Linked DNA regions of Homo sapiens: region 1 is linked to region 2. The links are contacts of gene promoters, found by promoter capture Hi-C in blood cells and fetal thymus (Javierre and others, 2016). All regions are on one chromosome and are shown on one strand. Each heading gives the region's core, a stretch centred on a gene start or on the middle of the fragment in contact. The rest is flanking DNA. Distances are from core to core; before and after follow the strand shown.

Region 1 (4,203 bases), core at 495-2,994, 260 kb before region 2:
AAATAAAATAAAATAAAATAAAATAAAATAAAATAAAAAACCCCAAACTCAGGCTGGGCGTGGTGGCTCACACCTATAATCCCAGCACTTTGGGAGGCCAAGGCAGGTGGATCACCTGAAGTCAGGAGTTCAAGACCAGCCTGGCCAACATGGCAAAACACTGTCTCTACTAAAAATACAAAAATTAGCAGGGTCTGGTGGCCGGCGCCTATAATCCCAGCTACTTGGGAGGCTGAGGTGGGAGAATCGCTTGAAACTGGGAGGCAGTGGTTGTAGTGAGCCGAGATGGCGCCACTGCACTCCAGTCTGGGTGACAGAGCGAGACTCTGTCTCAAGAAAAACAAACAAAAAAAAAAACAAAACAAAAAAACCCCCAAACCCTGTATCCTTTCACTATTACCTCCAAACTCCTTCCCAGCCTCTAGGCAACCTCAAATTTACTTTCTGTCTCCATAGATTTGCCTATCCTAGACATTTCCTATAAATGGCATCATATAATATGCGGTCTTTTGTACTTGGCTTCTTTTCTTTTTCCTCGCTCTGTCACCCAGGCTGGAGTGCAGTAGCATGATCACAGCTCAAGTGATCCTCCCACCTCAGCCTCCTGAGTAGGTGGGACTACAGGGGTGCACCACCACATCCAGCTAATTTTTGTATTTTTTTGTAGAGATGGGGTTTCACCGTGTTGTCCAAGCTGGTCTTGAACTGCTGCACTCAAGTGATCCCTCGCCTCAGCCTCCCAAAGTGCTGGAGTCCCAGTCATGAGCCACCGTGCCCGGCCTGGCTTCTTTCATCTAGCATGATATTGTCAAGGTTCATCCGTGACAACATCATGTCCTGTGTGTCAGCACTTCATTCCTTTTTATTGCCGTATATTCCATTGTACAGATATACCATAATACATTTTGTTTATTCATCAGTTGATGGACATTTGGGTTGTTTCTGCCCTTTGGCTATTATGCATAATGCTGTTATGAACATTTGTCACAAGTGTTTCTGTACATATATGTTCTCATGGTTCTTATGTAGATACCTACAAGTGGAATGGCTGGGTTTTTTGTTTTTTTTTAATTTGAGACAGAGTCTTGCTCTGTTGTCCAGGCTGGAATGCAATGGCATGATCTCGGCTCACTGCAATCTCTGCCTGCCGGGTTCAAGCGATTCTCCTGCCTCAGCCTCCCAAGTAGCTGGGATTACAGGCGCGTGCCACCACGCCCAGCTAATTTTTGTGTATTTTTAGTAGAGACGGGGTTTCATCATGTTGGCCAGACTGGTCTCGAACTCCCGACCTCAGGTGATCCACCTGCCTTGGCGTCCCAAAATGCTGGGATTACAGGCATGAGCCACCGTGCCCGGCCCTATTTGTTCCTTAAGAGCCAGCTCCAGGCTGGGCATGGTGGTTCACGCCTGTAATCCCAGCATTTTGGGAGGCCAAGGCAGGTGGATCACCTGAGGTCAGGAGGTCCAGACCAGCCTGGCCAACATGGTGAAACCCCGTCCCTACTAAAAATGCAAAAATTAGCCGGGAGTGGTGGCGCCTGTAATCCCAGCTACTCAATTAAAATAAAAAAATAAAATAAAAAAAAAGCTTGAGTTGCTCAGTGGCCTTCCTGCATGTTCTTTTGCATAATGACTTTGGGATGCCTTGATTGCAGCAGGAAGCGATATCCTAGCATAATCAGTTGTGGTAGCTGCCTTTCTCCAACTGTGAGCCTCTGCAGGGAAGGCACCATTTCTCATCCCACACACAACGCTGAACTCAGGGTCAGGTACTCTAAATGTGCTGAATCTTAAGGACAGGCTTTCAGCCGGGCGTAGTGGCTCACGCCTGTAATCCCAGCACTTTGGGAGGCTGAGGTGGGCAGATCATGAGGTCAGGAGATCGAGACCATCCTGGCTAACAAGCTTTCTGGAGTCAGGAGGCTAGGAGACCATCATTCTTATTTTCAAAACATCATATGAGCAGGAAGGTATGAAAGGCCCCATCTGCCATCAGAGCTAATGACGTGCCCTCTGAGGCAGCCAACTCCCAACCACCCAACCAGTTCCCTTTTTCAGGGTCACGCTGATGACTTGAAACTTTTCCGTGTTCAAGCTGCCCTCCCTTGGCATGTGACAGAAAAAAGTAAAAACAGGACTCAATACCATCCCTTCAGAGGAAGGCTTTATTGTAACATAAAATACACAACTTTGTGACTGTAACTCTGCATAGGATATATTTCTTTTTTTTGAGGCAGAGTCAAATTTGAGGCCCCAAATTGTACACAATACTTTTTTTTGGTGGCTAAATAACTAATCTGCCTTGACACTAAAATATGTATCTGAAATAATTTCACCAAGTTTTAAAAAGAAAAATTATAAAAAGTATACTTTCATTTTAAGTTATATTCGATTTTAGTCTCCCCCTACCCCCTAGAAAAAACCTGCACATCTCACACACGGAGCTGAAACTTTTGAGGACTTGTGTGTGTCTGGGAGTGGGTGAGAGGCTGATGGGGTCGAGACACACCACTACCTTTATCTTGTGGTTTGCAGGAACAAGGAGGAGAGAGAAGATAGAACGCAGAGAGCGAGCACACCTTTCATCAAAAATCTCCACTCTCTAGGCACAGCCTCGGTAACACCGAGGACAGCTCACAACTGGACAAGCAGGGAAACCCCAGCTCAGGGAAGCCACACTCATCAGCTCTCTTCCTCCCCAACCCAGTGCCAACTGCAAAGTGAGCCAGGACGGCCTGGCTGCTCTGTCCTCAGCAGGCCCTGGGGTGGGTCCACTCCCAACCTGAAAGTGTATCAAGTCTGACCCCCCAACCAGGGTTGCTGGAACAGAGAGCGAGGTCTCAGAGGCAGGTGCTGGTGAAGCATCTCTGGGAGACGGGCAGGGAGTGACTCTACGAGCCTGGATCCCTGAGCAGGCAGGCTCTCCTTCTCACCCTTCCCCGATGCACCCATCCTCATGGTTGGAATTTTCATCAAATCTTGAGGGGTAGGGAGGGGCTGAGTGGGATGCGGGTAGCCTGCTCCTCAGAGGCAGAGAGACTCTACTGCCTGGCATAGAAAAATAAATCAGTGTATGAAACCAAGCCAAGGCAAACGGCAGCTTTAAAAAAGTCATCTTCCAATAAATAATTTACTATAGAGGAATATTTTTAACGGCAAAACACTGATAAATTCAGAAGTTATTTTTGTAAAAAAAATATGTTTATTTACTCTCATGTATAAAAATAAGGTTTTTGGGGCCATCCTCTCCTGGGGGTGCCCATGCCCTTCTTTTGGAGAGGGGGCCGAGGGGTGACCTTTTAGGCCTTACCCGTAAGCTATTTTAATACACCTGCTCACCCCCCTCTTCCTCCACTACCTGCTGTAGCCCATTCCTTCCTTCTGGTGTAAAGCTACAGAAGAAGTCGTGGAACAAAATTATACCGAGGCTTTTTTTGTTTTGTTTTATACTTTTATCAAACTCCCCAGCAAACTTGCTGACTGCATTTCCACACATTACCAACACCTGCCAGGACTTCACAGCAGGGTGACCCGCTAAGCAAGCTGGCCTAGGTTCAGCCCACACTGCTGCTACCTACTCTTCAAGACATTAGGTGTGAACAGAGAAGGGGAATGAGGTGACCTGGGTTTGAATGACCCAGGGCCCAATGCACAAGAGAGAATTTTGATGTCAAATTAGGGTGGCAAGGAGAAAACAAAAAAGATCCAACTTAGAAACAGAACCATGATTCAACATTTGCAAAAAGCATCATCAATAAGCCTGAAGAAGGCCACGGACTGTGCATCCGCTGGCTCAGAGAAAGGCTGGGCAGCCGGAACAGCAGCTTCCTGGGTAACCAGGCAACAATCTCAGCGCCTGGGAGTCAGGGCTGCGCACTCCACTCTGGCCAGAACACAAACGGCATTGGCACTGTAAGCTCTCAGTTACGTGGCCCTCTTTTCTCTCCTCTATTTCTCCAAACATATGTGCACACCCAGAGGAACTGAGTGGCAATTCCAGGGTGCGGGCGGGCAGGAGGGGAGAGAGGACAAAGAGAGAATAAGATGAGCTAAATGTTTTGTGAAAAGCCACCGCCCATCCGAAAGCTTGTGACTTCCCTTGCCCCAACAATCTTTGTAGGTTGCCCCTTTTCCCATTCCTACCCAAGAACACAGGGGTGGGGGAGAGGGAAGGCTCTCTTTGTCAAAAAGCAGTTATCTACA
Region 2 (4,228 bases), core at 1,222-3,721:
TAATGTTGTTGTGAGGATTAAATGAGTTTGTATTTACCAAGCATGTAGAAAAGTGCCTGGCACATAGTAAGTATTAATCACTGCACTCCTCTCTCTCTTGCCATTTGGGAAGTTTCTTTCTCACTGAACCATGAGCTCTCCAAGGATAAGAAGCATGTCTGTTTCATTTTCTATCCCCAGCACCTAGTACCCCTCTCTGGCACACAGTAGGCCCTCAGCAAGCATCTGCTGCCTAAAAGGCACTATCAAGCAGGCAGTATGAAATTCCATTTCTGAGTCTTGAAGAAGGAAGTCAGGTGGAAAAACAGATAAGAGTCCTACACATAAACGTTTAAGCTTGACAACACTCAAGACCATCAAGGAAGACAGCATGGAGGGAAAATAAATAGAACACTGAGGAAAGATTGATGGCAGGAGATGGAAGCAAACAGAAAAGGAGTTCTGAAACAATATTCTTTCAAAGAAGCCGTGAAAAGAGTTCAAGGGAATTGAAGTAAGTCCACAGGAAAGGCTGTCTTAAAAGTGGAGTATGAAAAATTTGTGGTTAGCAAGCAGCTGACTGAGGTTAATTTTTTTTTAAGTCTCAGAGGAAGGAAATGATATTGTGTAACAGTTTTCTCTAACTTGGCAGGCTTTTAAATGTGGGTCCCGATCTGTCTTGCCAGAAGGGTTGAGAGCTAGGGAGCAGGGAGAAGGAGGGTATGGGTCTCTCCAAGACTCTGTGTCTTAAGAAGGTTGTATTGAAGTCAGGTTATATCTTCACTCACAATATGAGACAATAAATTCAAATAAAACGTCCATTTTTGTCCCCTTATTTTGTTTAGGCTGGTAAAGCAGGTTTGATGATGTTTTTGTCAGGTTGACAAAATTATCAGCAACAAGTTTTTATCTGGAATATCTCCCTCATTACACTTGAATTTCAACAGGGTTCCACCACCCAGGAAGACAGAATAACCGGTTTTCTGAGTTTTTCCTGATACAATTCTGGTTATCACAAACGACTTGAGATCCCTACTCTTCTTTAAAAGGGCAAGAAAAGGGAATCAATATCAATATTTGATAATGGCATTTAAAAAATAATAGACATCACTTTTGCGTTTAAAAAATGTTTTTCAATATTTAATTTACAAGTTGAGTACAAGCCATAAAAAATGTTTTTAAAATAAATTTGAGGAATTGAAAACTCCTAAGTGGTCAATTGAGCCCACATGAATCTACCAAACAAGACTGAAATGTACTTTCACAACATATGGTCTGATGAGGTTTTTCCTGTTAAACAGAGAAAAATAGACCCGGGGAAGTTGCTGGAAGGCATGAACCATGTACCATTTAAAGAGAGGTTTTCCATACTTATGCAAATGAGACCCCGTTAAAGACTCTACTACAGGATCTAAAGCTAGCCGCTCCCCAGTCTGGGGCTCAAATGTTCTCATCTGTAAAATAAGGGAAAAGAGAAAGGGTGGTATATGTGTCTGCGTATTAATTATTTGAGTGTGTGTGTGAATTCTTTGGATATGAAAATAAAGAGAGAAGACATTAATTATTTGGGTGCGTATGTGTGAATTAATTCTTTGGATATGAAAATAAAGAGAGGGCCGGGCGCGGTGGCTCACACCTGTAATCCCAGCACTTTGGGAGGCCGAGGCGGGTGGAGGCCAGGACCAGTCTGGGCAACATGGCGAAACCCCATCTCTACAAAAAATACAAAAATAGCCGGGTGGCGTGGTGCGTGCCTGTAATCTCAGCTACTAGGGAGGCTGAGGCAGGAGAATCCCCTGAACCCGGGAGGCGGAGGCTGCAGTGAGCCGAGAACGCGCCACTGCATTCCCGCCTGGGAAACAGACCATCTAAAAAAAAAAAAAAAAAAAAAAAAAAAAGGCCGGGCGTGGTGGCTCACGCTTGTAATCCCAACACTTTGGGAGGCCGAGGCGGGTGGATCACGAGGTCAGAATTCGAGACTCAGCCTGGCCAACATAGTGAAACCCCGTCTCTACTTAAAAAAAAAAAAAATACAAAAATTAGCCGGGCATGGTGGTGCGTGCCTGTAGTCCCAGCTACTTGGGAGGCTGAGGCAGGAGAATCGCTTGAACCCGGGAGGTGGAGGTTGCAGTGGGCCGAGATCACGCCACTGCACTCCTGCTTGAGCAACAGAATGAGACTTCAAAAAAAAAAAAAGAAAGAGAAAAGACAACCTACCCCAGTATAAGGGGTAAGAAAAAGGATTCAGGGAGGCTCAGGAACTTAAGGCCTCGAGCACCTGCACCTCCAGCCCCACCCGCTAACCCTCCCCAGCGTGGAGATACAGCACAGGGGCCAACATGGCGTCAGCACGCTGGGTCTCGCCTGCGACCCCCGTGACTCCGCACTGCTGCAGCCCGGGCGAGGCTGCGCCCCATTGGCCAACTGCAATGAGGTCATTGCGGGGGCGGGGGCCGGCGGCGGCGCAGGGGCGGGGCTTTACGGACGCAAGCACGTCGAAGCGCTGCTCCTGGAGCCGCGGAGGGTGCGGGTTTGGCTGCGGTGGTTTCTGTGGCGGTTGCTGTGGCGGAGTTTGGAGGTGAGTGGGGGCTGTAGGTTTAGCGCAACAGGGAGCGGCCCTCGATGGACGTAGGAAATCCTTCTAAGAGCCCCCTTGATTGTCAGAGGAATTAGCGGGGATCTGACGTCTTCGAGATAAAATGGGGGTTCGCCCCCTCCTTGGGCACCCCTCCTCTGCCCTGAGGAACCGGAGGCTCACTGCCCTTTGGAAGCCCCGCATCTCTTCCCTGCTTTAAGGGGTAGGCGGAGGAACCGGAGGTTATTGGATAGGCAGAAGAATTTAGGGGGCTTCTTAAAGGGTTTCTCAGTTTGGGGGTTTTCCTCTCCTTTTTTCCCATCTCAAGGTAGATGAGCCTGAGTCCAGAGAATTCCTGCTCATTGGGTAGACAGGAAATGAAGCAGGTGAATACCGTGGGAGGAGGCGAGGACCGGATGACAGGAGTGAGATTCTTCTAGGCAGGGCGCGGGGGCGCTGTAGTTGGACTCATCTTTTGCAGAATTGCTGTTTCTTCATATTTTGTTTTGTGATCGTCCAGAACTACTTTGGCCTAATTAGTTTTCTGTTAGCCTCCATTGCTATAGAGATATTCTTGGGAGACCTATAATCATTAAAGAGCAGGAGGACGGAGGCGACTCGTTGGAGGCTTATCATTATCCACAGCTCCTGAACTATGCTGACCAGGCCTAATTTTATGTGTTTAGAGGTTGTAGAATCTCTCTTTGTTTAAGGGTGGTGCCGGTAACAGCTGATTTGGATGATTCAGATGTACAGAATCTTAAAGTCAGCCTGCATATTCTCTTGAGAAGTCCTTGCTTATGTCTGAGCTTGTGTTACTGTCTTGAACATCACATGCACAAAGGTTTGTTCGTTCAGATTTCTCAAAATGTCTCCCAGCCTTCCAGAAGAGTAAATCTTCCTTTGATGTCAGACTCATCTATCAGTACTCAGTATAGATGCCCTTATGACACTAAAAATACTGTGCATTTTTCTGAGTTTGGATACTGGACAGGCTGTGCCTTACATTAGCTGATCGAGAATAAATAATTGCAGTTTCAGGACCACTGATAGCGCCAGTTGTCTCATACCCGGCAACAGTAAGACAGCACTAAAACGAAACCTTTATTGGCTCATGAGATTTGACAGATGGAAGAATGTAATTAATCTTGAAGGTAGGGTTGAGAAACAGAAAGCTGCAGAGGTGGAAGGCTTATTCTCTGTGGCTTGATAAAACTGCTTTGTCATTATCAGTGTGTTCCTGTCATGCTTGATTTGAAATTGAGCTTAATATGCAAACTGGTTGCTTTTTCCAGATGACGGTTATTTGTTTGAATTCCTAAGTGGGGAAATATTGTTTTCTGAGGAATCTGGAAGATTAAACCCTTTAGTGTAGCCATAGCTTTAGGATAGTGCCAGAACTTTGGGCTTTTAGAAATGCGCATTGTCAGTAGAAGGGAGAAGGATAGTTACAAGGCAGACATCTTTATGAGAGGGTATTGAAGGCCTCTTCTGTTTGTTTCCTGCACTAGCAAAAACAGATTGAGCAGTGTGAAACTCACTGCCTCAATATTGTGTCCTGGGTATTTAAAGAGTTGTTTGAGGTTCCCAGTTCCTGTCTTTAATCTGGATACATTCTTATCAGTTGAGTTGCCCAAAATAATTGTCATTTGATCCTGATGTTGACTGGAATGG

What was found. Contacts are between HindIII fragments. The CHiCAGO score rates a contact against its expected background, and 5 or more counts as called.
Region 1: a fragment that was not itself captured here is called in contact with the fragment with the promoter of ATP6V0A1 in region 2 in 1 of 17 cell types (erythroblasts); the score reaches 5.2 in erythroblasts.

Annotation. Positions count from the first base shown.
Region 1 is chr17:42,197,030-42,201,232 of GRCh38, forward strand. STAT5B (signal transducer and activator of transcription 5B) reads right to left here. Exons shown (of 19, transcript NM_012448.4): 19 at 2,148-4,203. Among named protein-coding and RNA genes, the nearest start is that of GHDC, 4.6 kb to the left of the region's middle. The HindIII fragment of the contact is 317 bases long and covers 1,587-1,903 here.
Region 2 is chr17:42,456,407-42,460,634 of GRCh38, forward strand. ATP6V0A1 (ATPase H+ transporting V0 subunit a1) reads left to right here and starts at 2,472. Exons shown (of 22, transcript NM_001130021.3): 1 at 2,472-2,557. RefSeq lists an enhancer at 2,092-2,181 and a silencer at 2,332-2,541. The HindIII fragment of the contact is 8,228 bases long and covers 335-4,228 here.